4 separate regions of the Homo sapiens genome follow, and all the other regions are linked to region 1. The links are contacts of gene promoters, found by promoter capture Hi-C in blood cells and fetal thymus (Javierre and others, 2016). All regions are on one chromosome and are shown on one strand. The core of a region is centred on a gene start or on the middle of the fragment in contact, and the rest is flanking DNA. Distances in the headings are between cores, read along the strand shown. Region 1 holds the start of PPP1R9A-AS1 (PPP1R9A antisense RNA 1). Region 2 overlaps COL1A2 (collagen type I alpha 2 chain). Region 3 has its middle 50 kb from the start of COL1A2. Region 4 has its middle 41 kb from the start of CASD1.

Evidence for each region. The method cuts DNA at HindIII sites, captures the fragments that hold promoters and counts their contacts. A CHiCAGO score of 5 or more calls a contact.
Region 2: a contact is called between a fragment that was not itself captured here and the fragment with the promoter of PPP1R9A-AS1 in region 1, in 3 of 17 cell types (M1 macrophages, M2 macrophages and M0 macrophages). The highest score is 7.1, in M1 macrophages.
Region 3: a fragment that was not itself captured here is called in contact with the fragment with the promoter of PPP1R9A-AS1 in region 1 in 7 of 17 cell types (M0 macrophages, M2 macrophages, naive B cells and 4 more); the score reaches 10.4 in M0 macrophages.
Region 4: a fragment that was not itself captured here is called in contact with the fragment with the promoter of PPP1R9A-AS1 in region 1 in 4 of 17 cell types (M0 macrophages, M2 macrophages, total B cells and 1 more); the score reaches 6.3 in M0 macrophages.

The regions. Positions count from the first base shown.
Region 1 is chr7:95,211,157-95,217,961 of GRCh38, forward strand. PPP1R9A-AS1 (PPP1R9A antisense RNA 1) reads right to left here and starts at 3,176. Exons shown (of 4, transcript NR_183324.1): 1 at 3,029-3,176. The region is part of intron 7 of PPP1R9A (protein phosphatase 1 regulatory subunit 9A); the gene reads left to right. The HindIII fragment of the contact is 3,393 bases long and covers 2,789-6,181 here.
Region 2 is chr7:94,424,736-94,431,540 of GRCh38, forward strand. COL1A2 (collagen type I alpha 2 chain) reads left to right here. Exons shown (of 52, transcript NM_000089.4): 42 at 382-489; 43 at 875-928; 44 at 1,015-1,122; 45 at 1,263-1,316; 46 at 1,688-1,795; 47 at 2,273-2,326; 48 at 2,453-2,560; 49 at 2,892-3,150; 50 at 3,558-3,742; 51 at 4,453-4,695; 52 at 5,512-6,492. The coding sequence ends at 5,658. Among named protein-coding and RNA genes, the nearest start is that of COL1A2, 33 kb to the left of the region's middle. The HindIII fragment of the contact is 3,339 bases long and covers 993-4,331 here.
Region 3 is chr7:94,441,344-94,448,148 of GRCh38, forward strand. No RefSeq gene overlaps it. Among named protein-coding and RNA genes, the nearest start is that of COL1A2, 50 kb to the left of the region's middle. The HindIII fragment of the contact is 2,249 bases long and covers 2,798-5,046 here.
Region 4 is chr7:94,465,747-94,472,551 of GRCh38, forward strand. No RefSeq gene overlaps it. Among named protein-coding and RNA genes, the nearest start is that of CASD1, 41 kb to the right of the region's middle. The HindIII fragment of the contact is 3,609 bases long and covers 2,563-6,171 here.

The DNA.
Region 1 (6,805 bases), core at 1,926-4,425:
CATTAAAAATAATAATAAAAAGAAATTGAATGTCTGACCCATGGACAGACAATACCTTTGGCCTGATACTCTCAGTTTGAGATGGGTCAACTTGAACTCATGACCAACAGGATTGGAAGGGTTCAACAAACATTGTTTGTCAAATAGAAATGACAGATTCCAGAAAGCTGCCAACCTGGCTACAAGTGGTAGCCTTCTGTTTGATTAAAACTTTGTCTCTCTGCCTCCTGAAACAGGGAGTTTGGCTTGATGATGTCTTCAATTCATAGGTTTTCTTTAAATCCCTGGTATTGGTTCACTGATAGTTCTGCCAAGTTGTTCAATGTTGTCTTCTGGTTTTTCAATCTCAGCACTAGTTATGCAGACACCAGAATGGACATGGCCACTCTGCTCAATAGGCAGCACTCAAGCCCATTTATATCACTGGCCAATACTCCCCTTGATGAAACATGTTATATTTTTACTAACTCTGGGTCTATTACGACTGACTTGTTGGGTCTGTCACTCCTAAAATTACAGACTGACATATAAAAGTTTGGGATAGATAGGGTTAGGAGTGGTGGCTCACACCTGGAATTTCAATACTTTGGGAGGTTGAGGTGGGAGAATAACTTGAGGCCAGGAGTTCAAGACCAGCCTGGACAACATAGCAAGACGTGTCTCTAAAAAAATAATTTTGTAAAAGCCCGGCATGGCATTGCTGCATGCCTATAGTCCCAACTGCATGGGAAGCTGAGGTGGGAAGATCACTTGAGCCCAGGAGTTTGAAGCTGCAGTGAGCTATGATTGTGCCATTACATTCCAGCCTGGGTGACAGAATGAGTCCCTGTCTCTAATCAATCAATTAAAAAAAAGTTTGGGATGGCAAACAGTGGAAGCAAATTGTGGCAACTGGTCACATTCTTTGAACTGCTTATGTAGCTGCACCTTAGAGGAATTTTTATATATTTAAATGTATTTAAAGAAAGGCTTTTAAAAATAGAATCAGAATCTGCAGTTTAATAGGATCTCCAGGTGATTCTTTTAAAAATATTTTTATTGATGCATAAGATATACATCATTTCAGGGTACATGTGACAATTTAATATATTCATTTAATTTGTAAAGATCAAATCCGTTTACTTGGGATATCCATCACCAAAGAAAGACCTTTGTAAGAAGTCTTTTCTTAAAAATAAAGAAAAAATGAAATCTTTTCTTTAGGATATTTTAAAGAATTTTAAAATATATATATGTATTTAAAGAAAGACCACCATTAGATCATGTAGCCTTCAGATGATTATAGAGATCCCTCCAAAATGAGGCTACTCTTAGTTACTAAAGGGAGCTTTCCTGAGGGATAACTAATTTATTATTTGTATGAGCCCTACAGGCAATTGTCCTTATGATTAAAGTCATTTAATCAGATAAGATCTTATGAAAATGGTTCCTGATTTTAGGTAATGTGGTTATTGGTACCACCTCAGTCCTGGAAGGCAGTCATGTCAGCCTCAACCTTTTGGCCAGGGTTTTTCTGGACAGTAGAATTGCTCTAACCCCTAGACTTCCTCCTTGTATGCCAAGGTTTGAGTCTATGTAATTATTGATCCTGCTGTACCTGGTTCAATACCTTAGGCCAAGTGGAAAGGTCAATACAGAAGCTTAAGGAGAAAGTCCTGGGTTTCTAAGGTATATCCTGATGGTTTATGGGATTTCTTTAACCAGTTGGGTCTGGGAGCCTAGAGAATATAGTTGTTATCAATGCCGAAAGTTAGACTAATTCTGCTGCTTGGAATCCTATTGATAGTAGTATTAATCATATGCTCTGAGATAGACTGAATGGCTTTGGTCCTAGCCACTCTTGGTTACATTGATCAGTGTGGCCAAGGGAATGCCATACTCGGAGAAAATTCACCTCAAGCCAAGACTGTGTAGAAATGAGGGTGGACGTTGTTTGGAGACAATTCCTCCATGGGTTCTCCCTTCTCTGCTTGTTTTTTGAGCAGCAGCAGCACCAGCAGCCTATGTTTCAGATTATCTTTCCAATGATGTTGGTATCATTGGGAGACAGTATGTCCCTTTAGGCAGTGACAGGTTTGTTTATCACTCATTATTCAAAAATTTGAATTTCCTAAGGGCAGAATTCTTAAGATTTTATTGGTTGTACTATCTTTCTTTCTCTTTCTTTTTTTTTTTTTTTTTGGAGACAGAGTTTTGCTCTGTTGCCTAGACTACAGCACATTGATGCAATCTTGGCTGACTGCAATCTCTGCCTTACGGGTTCAAGCGTTTCTCATGCCTCAGCCTCCCAAGTAGCTGGGATTACAGGCCAGTGCCACCATTCCCAGCTAATTTTGTATTTTGTTTTAGTAGAAACAAGGTTTCACCATGTTGGCCAGGCTGGTCTCAAACTCCTGACCTCAAGTGATCCACCCACCTCAGCCTTCCAAAGTGTTGGGATTACAGGTGTGAGCCTCCACGCCCAGCCTGGTTATACATTCTGCTTCATTTTTAAACCGCATTCTTCTGGCAGTTCCATGGATTTGAACTCTGTTTGGAAGCCATTTCTTAACTGTAGACTTAATTTTAAGACTTTGAAAACCATCAAGTTTCTGTTTAAACAGAAAGAATTCCTTTCTGTTTAATAGTACTCTCAGCTGAACTCTATTCTTTTTACATTTTACTACAAGCAGCAAGAAGAAATCAGGCTGCACCTTCACCACTGTGTTTAGAAGTCTACTTAGCCAGATCACCCTGTTCACAAGGAACACTTCCTACTTTCTCGTTAGAGAAGGTGATAATGTTGCTAAGCTTTGTGTCACTACATAATAAGCACGCTCCCTTCCAGTTTCCACTCACAATCTGTGCAGTGCAATTTAGTCTTGCTCCAATACACTCTTCAGAATCCTAGCCTTCGCCCACTGCCTGTTTCCAAGCCACTTCCCTGTTTTTTTCTGTATTTGTTTTGGCAGCATCCCTCTTCAATTTGCTGCATTACAAACTACCACCAAAACTTAGCAACTTAAAAGAAGAAATATTTGTACATTACCGTGTCTGTGGGTCAATTTAGCTGGATGCCTCTGACTCAGAATCTCTCCCAAGGCTGTAAGTGAGGTGTTAGCCAGAGCCGTGGTCATCCAAATGCTCCACTGGGAGAGGATCTGCGTCCATGCTCACTCACAGCTGTTGGCAGGACTGAGAAGACCCACTTCCAGGCTCCCTCATGTGACCTGGCAGGCCTCAGGTCCTCACTGGCTGTTGGCCAGAAACATCAGCTCCTTGGGATGTGGGCCTCTCCCTGCTCATAAGATGGCAACTTGCTTCCCAATAGTGAGGGCTGAGAGAGAGAGAGCAAGAGGACAAAAGAGGCACAAATCACAGTCTTTTTTTTTCAACTAATCTGAGAAGTGGCATTCCATTACTTTTGTTGTATTCTGGTTGTTGGAAATCTGTCATTCAGCCCTCACTCAGTGGGAAGGGATTATACAAGGGCATGAACACCCAGAAAGCAAGGTCATTGGGGTCATTTTGGAGTCTGCCTCCTATAGTAGGAAATAGAGTCCCAGCTTCTGGAGTATACTTTCTAAAAGGAAGGGGATAAAAACTAAAGAATGGATTTGAGTTGTCGGAAAATATTTTATTGGCAAATAATGATTTTTTTGGTCAAAATTTTAGGAAGAATAATTTTTCAGCAATATTACCAATGACCTGACAAGGTGAGAGCCTGAAGGTAAGGAACACAGACGCCATATGAGTAATCTAGAGAAGGATTTTAGATGTTTCTTGAGTGGGTGACTAGACAATGAGAATGGAGTGAAAAATCAGGAAATATTCTTTTTTTTTAATATATATAAACTTTAAGTTCTAGGGTACATGTGCACAATGTGCAGGTTTGTTACATATGTATACATGTGCCATGTTGGTATGCTGCACCCATTAACTCGTCATTTATATTGGGTATATCTCCTAATGCTTTCCCTCCCCCCTCCCCCCACCCACAACAGGCCCCGGTGTGTGATGTTCCCCTTCCTGTGTCCAAGTGTTCTCATTGTTCAATTCCCACCTATGAATGAGAACATGCGGTGTTTGTTTTTTTTGTTCTTGCAACAGTTTACTGAGAATGATGGTTTCCAGCTTCATCCATGTCCCAACAAAGGACATGAGCTCATCCTTTTTTATGGCTGCATAGTATTCCATGGTGTATATGTGCCACATTTTCTTAATCCACTCTATCATTGTTGGACATTTGGGTTGGTTCCAAGTCCTTGCTATTGTGAATAGTGCCACAATAAACATACGTGTGCATGTGTCTTTATAGCAGCATGATTTATAATCCTTTGGGTATATACCCAGTAATGGGATTGCTGGGTCAAATGGTATTTCTAGTTCTAGATCCTTGAGGAATCGCCACACTGTCTTCCACAATGGTTGAACTAGTTTACAGTCCCACCAACAGTGTAAAAGTGTTCCTATTTCTCCACATCCTCTCCAGCACCTTTTGTTTCCTGACTTTTTAATGATCGCCATTCTAACTGGCATGAGATGGTATCTCATTGTGGTTTTGATTTGCATTTCTCTGATGGCCAGTGATGATGAGCATTTTTTCATATGTCTGTTGGCTGCATAAATGTCTACTTTTGAGAAGTGTATGTTCATATCCTTCGCCCACTTTTTGATGGGGTTGTTTGTTTTTTTCTTGTAAATTTGTTTCAGTTCTTTGTAGATTCTGGATATTAGCCCTTTGTCAGATGAGTAGATTGCAAAAATTTTCTCCCATTCTGTAGGTTGCCTGTTCACTCTGATGGTAGTTTCTTTTGCTGTGAAGAAGCCCTTTAATTTAATTAGATCCCATTTGTCAATTTTGGCTTTTGTTGCCATTGCTTTTGGTGTATTAGACATGAAGTCCTTGCCCATGCCTATGTTCTGAATGGTATTGCCTAGGTTTTCCTCTAGGGTTTTTATGGTTTTAGGTCTAACATTTAAGTCTTTAATCCATCTTGAATGAATTTTTGTATAAGGTATAAGGAAGGGATCCAGTTTCAGCTTTCTACATATGGCTAGCCAGTTTTCCATTTATTAAATAGGGAATCCTTTCCCCATTGCTTGTTTTTGTCAGGTTTATCAAAGATCAGATGGTTGTAGATGTGTGGTATTATTTCTGAGGGCTCTGTTCTGTTCCATTGGTCTATATGTCTGTTTTGGCACCAGTACCATGCTGTTTTGGTTACTGTAGCCTTGTAGTATAGTTTGAAGTCAGGTAGCATGATGCCTCCAGCTTTCTTCTTTTGGCTTAGGATTGTCTTGGCAATGCAGGCTCTTTTTTGGTTCCGTATGAACTTTAGAGTAGTTTTTTCCAGTTCTGTGAAGAAAGTCATTGATAGCTTGATGGGGATGGCATTGAATCTATAAATTACCTTGGGCAGTATGGCCATTTTCACGATATTGATTCTACCTATCCATGAGCATGGAATGTTCTTCCATTTGTTTGTATCCTCTTTTATTTCGTTGAGCAGTGGTTTGTAGTTCTCCTTGGGGAGGTCCTTCACATCCCTTGTAAGTTGGGATTCCTAGGTATTTTATTCTCTTTGAACCAATTGTGAAAGGGAGTTCACTCATGATTTGGCTCTCTGTTTGTCTGTTATTGGTGTATAAGAATGCTTGTGATTTTTGCACATTGGTTTTGTATCCTGAGACTTTGCTGAAGTTGTTTATCAGCTTAAGGAGATTTTGGGCTGAGACGATGGGGTTTTCTAAATATACAATAATGTCATCTGCAAACAGGGACAATTTGACTTCCTCTTTTCCTCATTGAATACCCTTTATTTCTTTCTCCTGCCTGATTGCCCTGGCCAGAACTTCCAACACTATGTTGAATAGGAGTGGTGAGAGAGGGCATCCCTGTCTTGTGCCAGTTTTCAAAGGGAAGGCTTCCAGTTTTGGGCCATTCAGTATGATATTGGCTGTGGGTTTGTCATAAATAGCTCTTATTATTTTGAGATATGTCCCAACAATACCTAATTCATTGAGAGTTTTTAGCATGAAGCGCTGTTGAATTTTGTCAAAGGCCTTTTCTGCATCTATTGAGATAATCATGTGGTTTTTGTCTTTGGTTCTGTTTACATGCTGGATTACGTTTATTGATTTGCGTGTGAGGAACCAGCCTTGCATCCCAGTGATGAAGCCCACTTGATCATGGTGGATAAGCTTTTTGATGTGCTGCTGGATTTGGTTTGCCAATATTTTATTGAGGATATTCACATCAATGTTCATCAGGGATATTGGTCTAAAATTCTCTTTTTTTTTGTTGTGTCTCTGCCAGGCTTTGGCATCAGGATGATGCTGGCCTCATAAAATGAGTTAGGGAGGATTCCCTCTTTTTCTATTGATTGGAATAGTTTCAGAAGGAATGGTACCAGCTCCTCCTTGTACCTCTGGTAGAATTCAGCTGTGAATCCGTCTGGTCCTGGACTTTTTTTGGTTGGTAGGCTCTTAATTATTGCCTCAATTTCAGAGCCTGTTATTGGTATATTCAGAGATTCAACTTCTTCCTGGTTTAGTCTTAGGAGAGTGTATGTGTCTGGGAATTTATCCATTTCTTCTAGATTTTCTAGTTTATTTGCGTAGATGTGTTTATAGTATTCTGTGATGGTAGTTTGTATTTCTGTGGGATCAGTGGTGATATCCCCTTTATCATTTCTAATTGCATCTATTTGATTCTTCTCTCTTTTATTTGTTATTAGTCTTGCTATCAGTCTATCAATTTTGTTGATCTTTTCAAACAACCAGCTCCTGGATTCACGGATTTTTTGAAGGGTTTTTTGTGTCT
Region 2 (6,805 bases), core at 1,412-3,911, 790 kb before region 1:
CATCATTTATCCTGTAGGAAGAATGAAACTCTGGAAGTTCTGAATCGTTCCATTAAACCTTATACGTGACAACAACTAGAAACCATCTCATCTCCATAAAATATATCAACTTTTTGAATTCATTTCATTTGGGATACTGAATGACACGAGGCTCACTTTTTACAGAGCAACATCCCGTGATTACATAAAGCTGGCCATCTACATGTGGAGAAGGAGGGCAGAGATGATACTAATGATACTTCTTACCATTGTGTGACCCATTCACATTCAATTTACCTTCTTCCTTCAAACTAGAATCTCCTGAGTAGGGTTGTTTTGGAGGGGAAGGTTAGCATTCCATCGAATAAGGGGAATGTCATTTTATCTTCTCTGCCTGTTTAGGGTGAACCTGGTCCTCTTGGCATTGCCGGCCCTCCTGGGGCCCGTGGTCCTCCTGGTGCTGTGGGTAGTCCTGGAGTCAACGGTGCTCCTGGTGAAGCTGGTCGTGATGTGAGTCCAACACTTGGTTTGTAAAATAAAACTGAGCAGGATTTCATTGTGTGAAACTTTATGTCCTGAGCTGAGGTTCTCTTCTTCCAAATTTCTGAACAAGATGGTCAGCTTCTCCATAGTATCTACACCTAGTACTGAAAATATGAAAATTGCTTAGGCCAAAGAATGGGCTTTTCAATAGCACACTGCAAAACTGGGCCCAAGTATTTAAAACATCTCTAAAAAATATCTAGGTTGGCAGGTTTTTATCCCTAGTTTTAACAGTCTGAAAGAGGGTTCGTTACTGAGCACTGGAAGTGATGAAGACAGAGTAGCTACAACATAGGGGCTGGTAGGCAGCAGAGCCTCACCAACAGCCTTAATTTGTGTGGTGTCTTCACAGGGCAACCCTGGGAACGATGGTCCCCCAGGTCGCGATGGTCAACCCGGACACAAGGTCAGTACACTTTTCATCTTTCTCTAATTCAAAAGTGATTAAAATGCAACCCAGATTGATGCTAAGCTTCATTTTGCCTTTGGTAGGGAGAGCGCGGTTACCCTGGCAATATTGGTCCCGTTGGTGCTGCAGGTGCACCTGGTCCTCATGGCCCCGTGGGTCCTGCTGGCAAACATGGAAACCGTGGTGAAACTGTAAGTTTGTGAATACCAGTCCCTCAGTGCAGCATTCTCGTGGGCTTCACTTCTGACTTCCCCACACTTGGGGATGGTGGAGGAGTGGGGAGGGGTATCTTGGGCCTAGCTAAGTTGTGTTTTTCTTTTTCATTTCACAGGGTCCTTCTGGTCCTGTTGGTCCTGCTGGTGCTGTTGGCCCAAGAGGTCCTAGTGTATGTACATGCTGAAGATTTCTTTGCAACACTAACATTTAGAGAGAATCAGTCCAAAACATCTGTTAAGAAAATAAACAATATATCAGCTAGACTTAATATTTTTTAAAAATTTCAGTCCATGCTGAGAATTGATACAAATAACTTGAGCTATTTTAAATCTCTTATGCTTGTTTGTATTAAACAATTACAAGGATCTAGCCACTTTACAGATAGCACAACTAAAGCAGATTACCAGCAGAGGTGAGAGCCTAGCTAAACCATTACATGTCCTGAGTTACCTTTGTAAACGAATTAAGCAGTATTTGTGGTGAAGTGAGTGCCATTTTTTTAAAACGGTAAGTCTTATCCATCCTTCTGTTTCTTTATAGGGCCCACAAGGCATTCGTGGCGATAAGGGAGAGCCCGGTGAAAAGGGGCCCAGAGGTCTTCCTGGCTTAAAGGGACACAATGGATTGCAAGGTCTGCCTGGTATCGCTGTAAGTAAACTGTAGCCATCTCGCACATAAACTGATCCTGAAGGCCTTCAGCTCAGAAGGATTTTCATATTTTCACTGCTATTGTTCCAGTATAGCCTATATAATATCCATTTCCCATTCTCTGGCTAACTCCATCTCACTCTTGGAGGTAATGCTATTTCATACCAACATGAAAGGTGAGGATTAAGGGAGATAGAAATAGACATACAATAAAATCTCCTGGTAACAATGTCCTTCAACCCCACTTAAAATAAACATAATTAGAGGAATGACTAATATTGCACTGCTGAAATAGGTTGTGAAAAAAAAATTGAATATAATAGACATAATGGGAGAAAAGAGCCCCACTTTACATTTTCAATTTTCTCAATCCGGAGTCCATTTAACTAAAGTTTCCCATTCAATTTGGAAAAAAAAAAAAAATATGTCTCTTGACATGTGCTCTGAAAGTGTGATTTTCCTCTTCTGTCTTTAAAGGGTCACCATGGTGATCAAGGTGCTCCTGGCTCCGTGGGTCCTGCTGGTCCTAGGGTAGGTGGACTCAAGAGAAGACAGTTCATCTCTGAAATAGAGGCTAAAGCGAGCAGTGAGCCCCAGGCTGCTGCTCCCTTGGTGGGATTCACCAGCTCACATGTACCTGGTGTCTGTCTTCCTTAGGGCCCTGCTGGTCCTTCTGGCCCTGCTGGAAAAGATGGTCGCACTGGACATCCTGGTACAGTTGGACCTGCTGGCATTCGAGGCCCTCAGGGTCACCAAGGCCCTGCTGTAAGTATGATTTGGGGAAATAATAAAGAAGATCACGGACCTAAGGAATGTTTTCTTCAGACTAAACCAAGACAACTTTGACAACCCATTAAAGTTAGCCCCATTTCAATATATCCTCTAAAATATCTGGAAATTGTCTATATGCAATGGGCTTGTTAAGTCCATCCCTGCAAGTGTGCCTGGGGGCTCGTTATTTATTTATGTGAACTTGATTATTTTTTACTGATGAGAACATGCTTCCGTGTGAAGCTCAACTGAAAATCTGCTGCCATGGATGTCTCTCACTGTAACAAAATATAAAGCCTCTCCTATCTCACTTTCACCTTTGCAGGGCCCCCCTGGTCCCCCTGGCCCTCCTGGACCTCCAGGTGTAAGCGGTGGTGGTTATGACTTTGGTTACGATGGAGACTTCTACAGGGCTGACCAGCCTCGCTCAGCACCTTCTCTCAGACCCAAGGACTATGAAGTTGATGCTACTCTGAAGTCTCTCAACAACCAGATTGAGACCCTTCTTACTCCTGAAGGCTCTAGAAAGAACCCAGCTCGCACATGCCGTGACTTGAGACTCAGCCACCCAGAGTGGAGCAGTGGTAGGTCAAGATGTCCAGACCAGACTGACCCTTCTCACAAGTTGAGCTTTTCAAAATTAGTTTCCATTGACATTTAGAGTGAAAATGCATTTGGGTAAAGATTACATTATGTGAAATCACACCCAATTAATGGAGCGTCATCTTCTCCCAACCAGCACCCAACCTCATTTCCCTTAAAATGTATTTTTGCACTTTTCATAGTAATAAGTACCCTGATTTGATTTTTCATGGAGGAGGGGAGGGAAGGAACTGTCTAATCTTAAAAATAGCCACCCTCTTCCTCTTAAATATGGGGTAGACAATCAAAAATGTTACTTATGAGAGTCAGTATCTTTCATTAGTTATTATTAGAATCTGTGTTCTGCTCAATGAGAAGTTTCATGATCTGAATGTTATTTTCTTAAAAGGTTACTACTGGATTGACCCTAACCAAGGATGCACTATGGATGCTATCAAAGTATACTGTGATTTCTCTACTGGCGAAACCTGTATCCGGGCCCAACCTGAAAACATCCCAGCCAAGAACTGGTATAGGAGCTCCAAGGACAAGAAACACGTCTGGCTAGGAGAAACTATCAATGCTGGCAGCCAGGTGAGGAATCCCACAAACACCTCTCCTTCTGCTAAATAATATTTTGGTAGGACTGTTTGTTAATTATCTGCATTTTAATCTCTGACAAAAATGGGCTTATTAAAAAAAGACCTGTTCCTTTCCTGGGTTCCAATTTTGTCCTAAATTGCACATTAGAAGATGGATTGATTGGACACATCCATGTAATTCAAAGTTATTATTCAAATTTGACTTAATTGGTAATCATTGAAAAAACTGACTAATGTCATTTAGTGTGAAGGAGCACTGGCCAGCTATATGCCACACTCATACATATGCATTTTCAGAATGTGAGCAGCTTTTCTGAATTTTTAATCAAACCTTTTCACCAACTTTACTGAATGCCTACTGGAATTCCATAAATTACAAAATGACAGAAAAAGAAAAATGTCAGAATTTCTACCTCCTCATTCTCTTATTCTAAAGAAGAAGCATATGCAAAAAGGATTAATTGAAACAGATAACTTTTTTAGATGACCTTGCCTCAGTCTAGTAGGTCTTATGTTCATCTAGGTAACTGATACTTCAAAGACAAGTGAATTAAGTTTTCTTTAAAAGTACCCTTTTCCTAAGCTTGGATCTGAGTCTACTCTTCCTGAGATCTTTTTTTTTCTTTTTTTTTTTTTTCATGTTTGACTCTTAGTATCTGAGTCCTTCTCCACTTAACTGGAATTTCATCCTATTTTCTGTAGTTTGAATATAATGTAGAAGGAGTGACTTCCAAGGAAATGGCTACCCAACTTGCCTTCATGCGCCTGCTGGCCAACTATGCCTCTCAGAACATCACCTACCACTGCAAGAACAGCATTGCATACATGGATGAGGAGACTGGCAACCTGAAAAAGGCTGTCATTCTACAGGGCTCTAATGATGTTGAACTTGTTGCTGAGGGCAACAGCAGGTTCACTTACACTGTTCTTGTAGATGGCTGCTCTGTAAGTAATAGTGAAATATGGGAATAGCTTTGGGAAGTGGGATGGAGGGGGTTCTAACTTAGACTGCCCCCAAGGGGGGGTCTAAAGGGGGGTTAAAAGAACAGAAGAATGAGAGAACTAACTTATTTCATAAGTAAATTCAGTTTTTGTATGTATTTTATATTTATTTATTTATACGTATTAATTTCGTACTTAAATTCAGATGATAAATTCAGAGTATTCTTATCAGATAGTGCCTTCTGAAATGCTGAAATGTATACTATGTCCATGCATTGTTTTTTCTTTAGCATGTTTTTTAAATGGTAATGTGTGCCCAGAACTTAAAATTTCTTGAGACTTCAGTGGCCTAAACTATAATTTATAGTTATGTGTATTTTATTTTACTTATTAGTATGGCCTACATTTAACTTTTAATGCTTTTTCTACAATATGCTATAAATATAAGAAAAATTAAAATTCACTAACAGCAAGACTACATACCCACCCAGGTCCCGCTCCCAAAGACACACATAGAGGGACATACACACAACAATCCTAAAAATGACTTTGTAGAGATAGGTCACTTGGAATGTGTGTTGAAATGTTGTTGGTTTTTTTGGTTTGTTTGTTTGTTTGTTTTTTGTTAGACTGATAGGGAGCCCCTCCCACTAAAGACACCCTTGATACTGTTATTTCAAGGATGAACTTATTTATCTGGGACAGACATCTTCAGAATGACACATGCCAAACAGTGGTTCTTATTAAATCAAAGGTTCAGATATTATCAGATTCAGAAATAGTGATGCTTTGTGTATCTATTTTCTTCTCTTTAAACAGAAAAAGACAAATGAATGGGGAAAGACAATCATTGAATACAAAACAAATAAGCCATCACGCCTGCCCTTCCTTGATATTGCACCTTTGGACATCGGTGGTGCTGACCAGGAATTCTTTGTGGACATTGGCCCAGTCTGTTTCAAATAAATGAACTCAATCTAAATTAAAAAAGAAAGAAATTTGAAAAAACTTTCTCTTTGCCATTTCTTCTTCTTCTTTTTTAACTGAAAGCTGAATCCTTCCATTTCTTCTGCACATCTACTTGCTTAAATTGTGGGCAAAAGAGAAAAAGAAGGATTGATCAGAGCATTGTGCAATACAGTTTCATTAACTCCTTCCCCCGCTCCCCCAAAAATTTGAATTTTTTTTTCAACACTCTTACACCTGTTATGGAAAATGTCAACCTTTGTAAGAAAACCAAAATAAAAATTGAAAAATAAAAACCATAAACATTTGCACCACTTGTGGCTTTTGAATATCTTCCACAGAGGGAAGTTTAAAACCCAAACTTCCAAAGGTTTAAACTACCTCAAAACACTTTCCCATGAGTGTGATCCACATTGTTAGGTGCTGACCTAGACAGAGATGAACTGAGGTCCTTGTTTTGTTTTGTTCATAATACAAAGGTGCTAATTAATAGTATTTCAGATACTTGAAGAATGTTGATGGTGCTAGAAGAATTTGAGAAGAAATACTCCTGTATTGAGTTGTATCGTGTGGTGTATTTTTTAAAAAATTTGATTTAGCATTCATATTTTCCATCTTATTCCCAATTAAAAGTATGCAGATTATTTGCCCAAATCTTCTTCAGATTCAGCATTTGTTCTTTGCCAGTCTCATTTTCATCTTCTTCCATGGTTCCACAGAAGCTTTGTTTCTTGGGCAAGCAGAAAAATTAAATTGTACCTATTTTGTATATGTGAGATGTTTAAATAAATTGTGAAAAAAATGAAATAAAGCATGTTTGGTTTTCCAAAAGAACATATTGAGTAAAATTCCTTGCTTCAATGCTCTTTGCAATATAAATATGCATCTCTACCAGCCATTAGACCAAGTGCCTCTGATTAGATAGAAATTATGCAAAAAGGGCAGTTTGGTGTGGTAGAAAGAGCAGAGAACGAGGACCCAGGAGAGCTGAACTCCAGTTCTGGCTCTGTTCCTTGTGGCTGAGTGACCTTGAAACTCTGAGCCTCTGCATTTCAGTTTCCATAGCTATAATATGAAAAAATTCCTTTTCAGCACTATTAAGCATTTGCCCTACTCAAAATATGTAATATTTAAGCAACATGGCATT
Region 3 (6,805 bases), core at 2,672-5,171, 770 kb before region 1:
TATTCATGGTGCCATCATAGCACACTGTGGCCTCGAATTCCTGGGCTCAAACAATCCTCCTGCCTCAGCCTCCCAAGTGGCTGGGACTACAGGCTCACACCACCATGACAGGCTTGGCTCTCTATTTAAGATGGCTTCAGAGATCTCAGGAGCAGGAGTTTGTGACTTTTTCAACTCTTTCCTCTACAGCTTCACCACTAATCTGGTTCATTCACATTCTGCATGTTTTTTTCATATCTGCTATTAATTGGCTTTCATCATTATTATTATTTGATTTCTAAGAGAGAGATTCTGATATAGTTCATAAATCTCTAGACAGCCTAGTAAGTGCTGACATTTGGGTAGGTATCCCATCATGAGAGTCGTGTGATATAAAACATAGCCACCTAGACATCAGAAGCTCTGCGTGGGCAATTTTTAAAGGGGGCAAGGGTATGAAAGACCATAAATAACATCTCTATTACAAACTGCATCACAAAAGTTGTAATGTTTTATAACTTTTCTCAATAAAACAGAAACTTAATTTAATTCAAATACTTTGTATTTGAATGCCTGCTTTGTATCTACCCATCTCACACTCTTCCTAGCACTCCTTTCTCCTTGAAAATATATATGTTGGTCAGGCCTGGTGGCTCACACCTATAATCCCAGCACTTTGGGAGGCCGAAGCAAAAGGATCACTTAAGCCCAGGAGCTTGAGACCAGCCTAGGCAACATAGTGAGACCCTGTCTCTACACAAATTTAAAAATTAGCCAGGTATGATGGTGTGCACCTGTACTCACAGCTACTACAGAGGATAAGGCAGGAGGATTGCTTGAGCCCAGGAGGTAGAGGCTGCAGTGATCATACCACTGCATCTCAGCCAGGGTGACAGAGTGAGACTCTATCTCAAAAAAAGAAAAGAAAAAAAAAAAAATATATATATATATATGCTTCTTCATGCAATTTGAGCATTTTGTTTTTAGATAAAGACTTAGAAAGAGTTCTTAGACATCATTTTTTAATGCTTGTACAGAAAAAAAGAGGGGTTGGGGGAGACAAAGAACATCAATAACAAAAAACAAAAGTTCATTAAAATGCACAAAAAATGTCCAGTTACTTTAGAAATTAAAGAAACACGAAGTTAAAAAGCTCACTTCATCTCTGGCTGTTTCTTTTCAAAATAATAGGTTGATAAGAGTTTAGACAAAAGATCACTCTCATCTACAGTTGATGTGGTATAAATTGGTACAAAATTTCTAGAGAGAAATTTATCGGTATGTATCAAAAGCCTTAAAAATGTTTATATCTTGGACAAGGAATGAATGCTAATAAATTAATATTTGATTTTTCTAAAGACTTTGACCCAGTAGAGTCCATATGAAGGCTTCTCATAAAGCTGTGAGACTCAAGTTTTCTCTCCACTGCACAAATCAGAACAGCACGTAGCTGTCCCCCAATGCAGCTGTCTGGGGCAACCTAAACTTGGAGGGAGAGCTGTGTGGGTCTGAGGAACAAGCACGTGAATCACAGAAGTCTTCTAACTTTGGGAAATGCCATGGCTATTTGCAGCGCAAAGCTGACAGAAGGAACTAGAGCACTGCAGCTCTCAAAAAGCCACACAAATACACTCTTTGAACTGGTTCACATGACTATGTGCAAATCCAACCCTCTGAACAGGTGTCATGGAAAGGTGTCTGCAAAAAACACCAAAAGGTTATTTTTCTAAAATCCCGTTTTATTGCCTTCTCTTCCAGTGAAGGCAACCCCCAGCTGGTTATTGGGAAGTCACATCCCCCTTCTTCCTATATCTTAGCATGGGAGTGATAAAATTGCCTGAAAGAAAGACACTACAATAGCATTAAGTCCATGTGCAAATATAATGACTGACCCTCATATCATATCTCAAGCGCAACAGTTGTCATAGCTTTATTTATAACAAAACATTGGAAATTAACCAAATGTCTAATAATAGTGGATTGGTTTAAGTAGATATGGTGCATCCATTTGATGGATTGCAATCCAGTATTTTAAATGTTCTCAAAATATACTTATAGAAGAAAATTAATAGCTATTTGCTAAAATAAACAAGTATAGATTACAGGGGAGTTGCATCCCATGCAGGAAGTTAGGTTTTAAAACCAGCACATAATGGAGAAAAAGTTTTGCATAATCAACATTACCCTTGAAAATCTCTAGGTTGAAGACCAAATACCATAACTTCCACACAGTTTTTCTTTTAGTATTAGAATACATGGCTGTTTCTGTGATTGTGCATGAAAGTTGTTGGCCTGAGTATAGACCATGTTATAAGAAAAATATGTATTTTTGCCATCAGAATCATAGTCACTGTAGCAAGTTGCACACACCATGTGAGACACACAGAAACTGGAATTGACTAAGAAAAAAGAAATTCCTATCCCCCATCTCATGCTTATTCCAAAGCATATATTCATGAGCTAAATGAAGAGAAATTTTAAAAATTTAATTAAATTATTGTCTGTCTCACACACAGAGAGAGTAAAATTCATCTAAGTTAATGTGTGCAGTGATTATCCATGTAAATCATTACATACAAGTTCAAGTTTGCTTAAAAATTTTTATTTTTTACAGATATGCATAAAAATTCAGAAAGGATGTATGTAAAAATATTAATAACCATTATCTCTAGTGAGGTGATGCATATTGCCAGGGTTTTTTCTTTAATCTGTCTGCATTTTTCAAAAAAACATAAACATATATTACTTTCATTATCAGAAGAAACTAGGATTATTTTTAACTAGCATTCACAAAACATAGATGGTATATTTAAAACTAAGCTTTATTGTATTATGAATGCAGGCTACATGTAGAACAATATATAGTTTTGATGTACAATTTCTGATTCAAATGAACAAGCACTTTGTTAAATTACTGCTAAACATTACGGAAACATGAGAACACATTATGACGCAGTATGTTTCAATCAACAAAATTTTATTCGTCTCCCTTGGTAAAGCAGTGTTATTAGGGACTATTGAACAGAACACGGAGACAGCCTCCTTATATTGAACTGGTTGTTAAAATACACCTGTCAAGGAAAAAAAGGTTCTGTCTAGATATGGATTATATAAATATACATAAAAAAATCTTTAGAAAATTGCCCTAGGAGGTCCTTTCTGAGTGTTTAGACATTCCTAATCTTTCGTGCTTCCGTGATATATTGTTAAAATATCTATTACAGCAATATTTTCTCTGCTTCATTCTCAAAAGATGCAGAGATGCATTCAGGTAATGAGGGAAATTTGTTACTGAAACACATATATCACTCTAGTAAGCCTGTTTTAATGATTGAAAAAAATATATGTCTCACATAGAAGGATTTTAAAGACAGGTTAGTTGAAATGGTTCTTTGATTATGTAAAATCACTGGTGGTTGATTCATTGTGTCAGATTTGAAATGAGATTAAATTGTAAGAGTAAGTTTTAAATTCTCTGCATTAAACTGAATTAATAAATTGAGCAAAGACATGATTCAAATAGGATTGAAAGGTTCTGCTAAAACCAGACTGTTTAGGTCCATTAGCAACCAGCTAAGAAAGAATATCTTATCAGAAAACAGCGTAGGCTGTGGAAAATTAATAGTGCTAGACCCAGTCTTGGTGTAGAATTACATGGAAGGGATTAGGAAGTGAGGGGAAGGTAATTAAGTAGAAAGAACAGCCGGAAAGAACTGAAAAGCCAAAGATCAGATGGTCCTCAAGTTGAGCCCCTCACCATCTGTTGGCAATCATCAAAATTTATTTGATCTTATTGTATATTTACTCTGTGAAAGGAAAAGAATAAAACCTCATTCTAATGAATGAATAGGTGAGATCAAGGAGAATACCCATTATAACAGAGCTCATTATTATAGCAAGTAAAATCATTCCCATTGCAACATAACAAATACAATTAATATAATCTAATTGTTACATCTTTGTCCATGTCCCTAATATGAGCTTCATAAAAAGATTCTCATGTTTTCCTGGCCCTTTGTGATTTAGTTGGAGCACTTTGTTTATAATTTTGCTGTCATTGTTTATTGTATGTTTGTCTATACAATTGCTCTTATAAAATTGCTGAGTGACTGCATGCATGCATCAGGAAAAGTAGGTCAATCAGCCACTTAATGTTTCCTCTTCTAATCTGCATTAGCACCTGTGATTTCAGTATCAGCTAAAGGGGTTACTACTATTTACCCAGTTATACAAAACAGAAAATACAATTCTTTCCTCTCCTTTACCTCTGGTTCTCACATCCAATCAACTACCATATCCTCCTAAATGTTTTTCTATAGCTTTACTTCTTTAGCCTTTGTTTTTGGGGCTTCCTCCCTTCTTTTTCGGCAGTACTGCAACTTTTCACTTCAGCCTTTCACCTTAACTAGTTACTACCTGCCTCTTTTCTCGTTCCCCTCAAATCCATCTTCCATTACACAGAGAAAACACAACTCTGACCTTTCAACTCCCTGTTAAAAGATTCCTGTTTCCACAGCACTTGCAGGATAAAGTCCAAAGGCATTTGTGTAGTATGGGAAACCCTTAACCACAGTGTCCCCTGACTATTTCAGCTCTCTAACTCTTTTCTCCCATCTCACAGTTTATGCCCTCCAGCAAAACCAGAGAGTAATTTATAAAGCAACTACCAATAAATAATTAAGCAATTTTTATTATAATCAACTCATGACATGCCTCAGGGATGAGTATTTCTATTCATTCTTAGGTCTGTGCTATGCATTAGTATTTAAAAATTAGCTGCTGGGGTTTTAGACTGTGAGCCTTGCAAGGAAGGCAGACCAAACTATACAGCCAGCTATCACATGGGAGCATCTGTGCAAGACGTCTCTGCACAGCTCAGCAAGACAAGCAGATACATCATCATATCTCTGAATACATATTAGTATTGCCCACCAGTCAAGCAGTATGCAGCTTCACAGGAGAGCTGTGTATTTTCCTTTATTAAAAAATGATTGAGACTGTCATTCTTTGCCTAGTGCCATCTTTCACATACCTAGCAGCACACTTTTAACATGCCGGATATTTGAAAGCTTTATCAGAAAAGGCTGGCTGCCTCATATCAAGTGTTTAATTTAGTTCTGAAGTCTCTTGAGAAAAATGAATTGATGTCAGATTTTTAATTTTAAAGTTACATTTGCATTGCAGATGGACTATTTAACAGTTCACGTAATCAATAAATTTAATACTTCAGCACAGGACATGTTAACGAGAGACGGTAGGATCTAAATTAGTGGTTTCTTTTGAAAATTCACATCATGCTTGCTTGCTTGCTTACTTAAATCTGTTAATCATAAGAAATCACCGTCTTGTAATGAAAAAATAAATAGCTGAATGTTTCCACAAAGTAGTCAGCTTCTTGGACATGATATTCATTTCTTTTTAGGGACTAACATATCTTGATAAGTAGTAATATTCTACCCCACTCACCCCTCCCTACCAACCTTGCAAAGAATGTGCAGATCCAAACTTTTAAAACCTGTTTAAAATGCTATTTCATAACTGTGCCAAATGCTAGCGAACAAATATTTTTAAATGTATTGGGTATTGTATTAAAAGTAATTAATGGCAAAAACCGCAATTACTTTTGAACCAACCGTACAAATGGGCACTGAGCTAGTAAAAAGTGAATATTTTGTGTTTTAAAATTATTCATGTTTCTTTTTATAAACAATAAACTTGTTTTATTGAACAGCATTATACATTTTTATCAGCTTTATTGAGATATAATTGGCATAAACTGCACATATTTAATGTATACAATTTGATGTGTATGATATATATGTGTAGGCTTTATGATTTCTAGTTAAAAAGTTAGAAATGAATGAAGAAGAAAACTATCCACTATATTCACAGTACTATAATCACAATTAAAACTTTAGAACATGCCCTTCCAAGTTTTTAAAATCTATTCATATACACATACGAATAAAATAGACATGTGCTTCCATTTCTACCAAATTGTGAACAAGCTGCATATATTAGGTTGTGTTTTTTTGTGTTTTTAACTAAAGTTTTCATAAATGTTTTTTCGTATTACTAAGTATCTTTCTAAAGATAATTTTTAATGTATACATATATCACATACATTTTTATCTGTAGTGAAATAATCACAAAATGAATGATGAAGAAAATAATCACCTATAGCCACCTATAACCACTACTTAAACCATAAAAACATAACCATATAAGTAACCATGCATATAATCACTATTAAAATTCTAAAATATGTTTTAATACACATATGAATTTTAAATATATGTAATTATATATACACACACTTTCATTTTTACTAAAATATTAATCAAACTATATGTATTATTTTATACCCCGATTTTAAAGAAAATTTAATAAGCAGTTTGTATACTTGCAATTTTTTTTACAAAAAGTTTAAAAAATACAGAAATGAATGAAGCCAATTATCACCAATAACTCAAGTAATACAGATAATCACTATTTAAACTTTGGAATATATACTTCTGGACAGATATAGAAAAAACCATTTTATTATTAAATTCTATTTTTAATTTAAATTTTATATGAGCATTTTTCCATGTTATTATATATCTTCTTAAGAAATAATTTTAAGCAGCAGAATAGTTTTATAACATGAAGTACTTTTGATAACATTGGATATAATAAAATCTTTTAAATCTTGGCCAATTTTATAGCAAAACTTTTCATTTTTAAAAAACATACAATCTTTTGATTAGTATTGAAGTTAAATGTGTTTTTCAAATGCTCATAGACCATTTTAAATGATGTCTTATTTATTTTGTCCATTCTGTAT
Region 4 (6,805 bases), core at 3,117-5,616, 740 kb before region 1:
CCATTTATTTGCTAACATATATAATATACATATATACATATACATCAATGAGTATATTCATGTATGTTTACATATATATGAATACATACACTCTGAGAATAATTTTCTTCTAATATAAATGAGAAACTTACAGTGAATAACCATGTGCTGCCCACAAAGGAAGTTTCAACAAATTAGCAACAGAACAGTGTATGTTCACTGCCCACAATACAATGAAATTACATGTATACCACTAAGAGATAGCCAAAAAGTAAAAACATACGAAATAATAATAAATGAAAGGTCTAATTTTTATTTTCAAAACTATCTTTATATGGTAGTGCATTCTATAATTAATGACTTATTAAAGCTGATGAACTATATGCCCAAATAACTTATCCAAAATTCCAAAATCCAGAAAACTCTTGAAGTTTCAAGAAATTTTTAACTCATTTGACAGCAAAATATAACCTAATCTGAAATTATTTAGTAGCTACAGTTGATCTTAATTCACAAGATGTCATATAAAGCCTTTATTTATTCTATACAGTGTGGATATTCATGTTTGTGACAAAAAAAAAATGTGTTTAAGCAAGCAGTGCTGCCCCAGGTGCCTGTGGAAGAAGTTGCATAATAAATCCACATCTGTGATATGAATTTATGTTACTATTCTAAAATACAAAAATTTTTGAACTCTAAAATATACATCAGACTTCAAGTGGTTTGGGTAAGAGATTCTAGGCCAGTTTAGCATTTCTTCTGTATTTCAAACCTAAGAAAATCAAGTAATGAGGACAGCTTTTTAGCTCCAATATTTGTTTTCTACCTCCTAAAACTTCCCAAACACTTTTTTCTGTGGCAGGACACCAATTTTGTGGCTATTAAAATATGCAAACTAAAACTATTTCATTTTTACTTCCTTTCCTTCATGCAGAGAATGATGGAATGCAAATATTTTCCCTTGCCTCGAGGCAGGGTTCAGATATTAAGAAAAAGAACTAATATTTTGATTGTTAATGATTCAGCCTCTATGGGTAATGAGCCATCAAGGTTTATTGTGAAAAGAACAGGAGAACTGAATTTGAGGAAAGAGGCAGTGCCTGTGTTGGAAATCTGAATAGAGAGGAATGGATTTTCCTCACCTCTCCCATGCTTAGCTAAAAGGTAGCTAAGAAGAGGTGAATAAAGGAAAGAGGGTACCAGAAGGAGCCCCTGGAGCTCATGAGCCCAAACAAGGTAGAAGAGGGCCTGCTGCCTGGAAAGAAACAAATGGATGGACCTAATTAAGGGCTACTGCCAAGAACACTACACAGTGCCCAGGTATTAAATGGAAGATGAGTAAGCAGGAGTCTTCACTTGTATGAGAATGTCACTATCCCAGTTGAACCTCTCATTAACAACAAGAAGGACTTAATTAGAATGCAGTGCTTCATCTATTGATTTTGGGCAGGGATGATGCCTCCTGGGTTATATGATTTTACCAAGTCCTGTCTGAATACCCTATGGAGAAACCCCCATTCTAATTATGACACTTCAGAAACTCCTTCAAGCCCAAGATAAGAGAGATAAAATCCTGGGTATCTAGTGCAGTAGCAGTGATGGGAAAATCACTCTGCATTTTCTCCACAGGGGAAGGGGTACAGAATTGCACCTAATTTTATTTTGTAAGTGGCCTAGGAAACTGTCCTGCATCTGAATGATTTGCAAATATATAATTGTTTGTGCTTCTAGCTATTCCACTCCCTCTTTATTGATATTCATTATCAGAAATGTGGACAGTTTTAGTCACTATATCAATCTATAAACTTTGAAATAAAGAGTAAAATAAGGAATAGTGTTAAAAATGATTGCAGTGTATGCAACAGTTTTAATGCAAAAATAGACTTTGTATAAGCACTACTAAAACAAACAACAAGAAAATCTGGAGCAATCTCTGTGATTTTGTGGACCTGTTTCCTGTGTTGAGTGAATCTATATTTTAAGCCCAGAGAAGGAAGCAGACTCTTGTCTTTCCCACTTTCACGGATCATCATTTCACCTGTTCTATCAACCTAAATTCCATCCTCATCTGAATGTATATATGGTATGAATTATAGTCATTTTCAAAAAAGTAAAAACTTGACTCTCATACAAATATATGATTAACACATGTCAAAGATGTTATTTAACTCTTTAATTGATCGAGAGACCTATTGCAATGGGTTCAAAAGAGACCTCATAGAAGACAAATTTATGAATCTGAAATATTGAAATGAATTTGCAAAACTGAGTTTTCCACAGGAGAAAAGGTGTTTCCCCTCATAGATAGAATTTATTTGCATGTCTATAGGCAAGAATTATTTGCATTGCTACCTGTTTCAAGTTAACTTTACCGTATACAGAGTAGTAAAATAGCTTAGCTAAAGACAAAATCGCATATCCCTACATGTTCAATAACCCCCAAAGGCTCTAGCATTGCATTGAATTTATATACAGTAATCTCATTTGTGCATTCCAAAGTCTTAAATTTTCCCTTACAAACAACATTTTTATATAATCTTTACATTTTCATAGCTACTTCTGCAATTCTATAAGTCAAGCCGAAGCTTCTTTCTTAAAGGAAATGTTCATTTTTCATGCAGATTATAATAAAATGTTAAGCCTCTTGATAATTGTCAAAGTATCAATGATAGTGAATAGGCAAAAATTATTTCCTGTTCTGATATGTAATAGCTATACTTACAGTTTGCAAAACCTTAGACAAGGGTAAGAAAGAGAAAAATAATTAGTCAATTTTTACTTTTGTTGTGACAGGGTCTCACTCTGTCACCCAGGATTGAGTATAGCGGTGTGATCTCAGCTCACTGCAACCTCTGCCTCCCTGGCTCAAGTGATCCTCCCACCTCATCCTCCTGAATAGCTGGAATCACAGGCACACACTGGCTAATTTTTTGTATTTCTGGTAGACATGAGGTTTCACCTTGTTGTCCAGGCTGGTCTCAAACTCCTGAGCTAGAGCAATCCACCTGTCTCGGCCTCCCAAAATCCTGGGACTACAGATGTGAGCCACTGTGCCCAGCCAATCATTACTTTTAAAATAATGTTTAGCAGAAGCAGCATCTTGATAGTCATCAACAGCAATATCAATAAATATTTTATGTGCTATAATATTTTTGGTTAGAAGTAAGATTAATAAAATAATTCAATTCTCAATAAAGGTCTTATTTAGATAAAATGTAGCAAGTAATTTAACTGTATTAGAGACCTTTTAAAAAGAACTGGGCCACTCAAATTGTCATTCCTTAATTTTTTTTTACATTCTAAGATAAAAATATAATAAACTAAATGCCAATAGTAGCTGATATATTAACAATGGAGCACAATATTAGTACAATAAAATTTTTTCTTTAATACATTACACATCACATATGTTGAGGTCCTTTCTATGCTGCACAAAGAAATCTAGCCTGCATTTACAATTTTAAATTATTATATTCTTGTGTAAATTTTATAGTTGATTTATAACTTGGGATTTATTTGATGTCAAGCCTTCTGGTCACAAATGAAACTCTAAATTGAAGCACCATAGAAGCATCTGATTAAAAAAATTACTCACTGCTTTGACGGAATTATATTACAGAAGTATATTGCAGCAAAAAGTAGGGATTTTCTTGTATGTTTTTCCAAATAATTGGGAAAACTCTGCTTGCAGCTATTTCAGAAATGCTCATATCAGAGCAGTTCTTGCCCAAGTTAACTATAAAATGCATGAAACAATAGTTTGACAACATTCAAGAGCACTTCCAGCAGACAGGACTTGAGAAGCAGCAGTCCGGGAGAGAAGGAAAACACACTGAAGTGAGATTCTGCCCTGTATTTCCCTTCAAGACATCTGCAAATTTGCATCTGAGAGAAACAGAGATTAAAAAGAAAGACAAACCTGGCTTACGACACTCTCACTGGGCTGAAGAAACAGAGTTTGGGGGTGAGGGCATGTAATAGAGTTAAAATTTGGGGAAGAAAACACATAAAAGTAAGCGTGAAATTCTGCATGCAATTTCCTTGCAAGGGGTGGCCATCCCCAAAACTGCATATACACAAAGCAAGACTCCTAAACATCTAGCAGAAAGTACCAGTATGCCAAAGAGCTAAGCAAAGATTTTAGCAGTATGGTAGTACCAAGGGCATATAGATTATAATTCAGGGCTCACAAAAGTAGAGGGGACCCAGGAAACACCCCCATGATTTCACATGAGACCATAAAAAGGTTATACCTTAGAAGTAAAAAATAAGGAATAAAGGCAAATTAAAACTAGACCAGTTCCATCACAGTATAGAATCCACTCTTGGAATCCACTCTTGACTAGATAAAAGTGACCTGTTATATCTCTATCTACTTGCCAAAATGAAATTAAATTATCTTTGGGGAAAGATATCGTCATCTAAGGCCTGTATAATTTTTCATACAGAATCTCTAGTATTCCATCAAATATTGTTAGGCAAGATAAGAAATTGGAACATATAACAAAAAACTAGGAAAGATTTGACAATGAAATGGAAGTAAAGATGACCCAAATAGTGGAGCTATCATTAGAGACCTCAAAATAACATTATGGCCAGGTGTTGCGGCTCATGCCTGTAATCCCAGTGCTTTGGGAGACTGAGGCAAAAGGATTGCTTGAGCCCAGGAGTTTGAGACTGGCCTGGGCAACATAGTGAGACTTTGTTTCTACAAACAATAATAAACTAATAATAATGTTTAATATGTTCATGAAAATTGAGAAAAGAATGGAGAATTCATAAGAAACAAGGAATCTACTAAATAAAATAAAGTGGAAATTGTAGAAGTTGAAAAGATAACTGAAATAAGAATCTAATACTTGGATTTAAAAGCAGATAAGGCAAATAATAAAAACATACATCTACATAAAGACATGTACGCAAATGTTAATAACAGCATTATTCAAAATAGCCCAAAACTGGTAGTAATCCAAATGCCCATCAGCTGATGAATGGATGAACACATGAGGTATAGGCACACAATAAAATACTATTCAGCAACGAAAAAGAGTAGACTGCTCATGTATTCAACAACATAGATGAACCTCAAAAAAATGTTAAGTGAAAGAAGACCGACACAAATGGCTATATAGTGTACCATTCTATTAACAGAAAATTTCTAGAAAAGGTAAACTTATACACACAGAAGTAGATCCACAGTTGCCTAGGGCTATGGGTGGGAGTGGAAATTAACAACAAATGGGCACAAATAAATTTTAGGGGGTGATGGAAATGTTCTAAAACAGAATTGAGGTAATTTTACACAAATACACAAATTTACCAAAATTTATCACATTGTACACTTATATTTGGTTAATTTATGCTATGTAAAATTATAAATTATATCTCAATATACGTTTTTTTAACTTTAGCTGACTCCTAAATGATGCACTTGCCAGACAAAATCGAGATAAAGATTCTTAACAATTAACTGTGATTTTAGCTGCCACACAAGAGACAGCGTTTGATGCTTGAGTCCACCCGAGTTTAATATCTGAAAAAAAAATCAGAACTTTTGGAAGACTATAAAAGAATGCACAATATAACCCTGACAGTGCCCAGGGTATAGAAATTACTGAATATATTTTTAAAACAGGAAGTATTACTTTTCTCGACAGAAAAGATAGAATATTGTTATACTAATGTTGGTAAATATATACACCAACCCTGGATGATACAGAAGTTGGAATTAGTAGGCAAAGATTTTAAAGTAGCTGTTATAACTATGGTCAGTGAAATAAGGAAAAATATGTTAGCAATAAATAAAATAATAGGAAATCTCAGTAAAGATAAATAAAATATGAAATATTTTGAAATATTTATTAAAATAAGCTAACGAATTCTAAAACTAAAAAATAAAATGTCTGAAATTGTAAAAAGAATCATTATATAGGTTTAGCAGCAAAATAGAGATGACAGAGCAACTAGTCAGTGAACTTGATAATACAATAGAAATAGTCCAATCTGAAGAATAGACAAAAAAATTAAAAAGATTGGAAGAAAATGAGCAGAGTCTCAGAGAACTCTAAGACAATATCAAAAGACATAACATATGTATAATTGGAATCACAGAATGACAGGAAAGAATGTGGCAAAAAAAATTTGAAAAATTAGCCAAATTTTTCCAAAATTGGGTAAAAGGCATAAATATAAAGCTTGAAAAAGCTCGGTGACCCTCAAACATGATAAATGAAGAAGCTATGTGTAAATACATCGTAGTCTTAACTGCTGAAAACCAGAGAAAAAGAGAACTCTTGAAAGAAGCCAGAAAAAGAATAACATAATTACATAAGGTTCAAATCATCCCAGATTTTGCATCTGACACTGTGTAGGCCATAATTCCATAAACAAATATCTTCAAAGTTCTGGAAAAAAAGTGTCAACTCAGAATTTCATATGCAGCAAATATATCCTATTGGACTGAAAGTGAAATACTATAATACAATTTTCAAATAAAAGAAAACTAGGAAAATGTGTCTTCTAGCAAATCTGCTGAAATCCTAAATAAAATTCTTCAAACTGAAGAGAAATTATACCAGCTGAAAACTCAGATCATCAGGAAGGAATGAAGATGCTTGGAAATATAATATCTGGGTAAATATAAAAAACTACTACTTAATCTCTTTAAAATATATCTAGGTATTTAGGTCAAAAACTATAAAACTTATTGAGGATTTATAGTGTATGTGGATGTAATCATACATGATAATTGTGCTATATATAATGCACAATACATCATGATATATGATCATATCATTATATCACATAAAGGATAGGTGGGGGAATA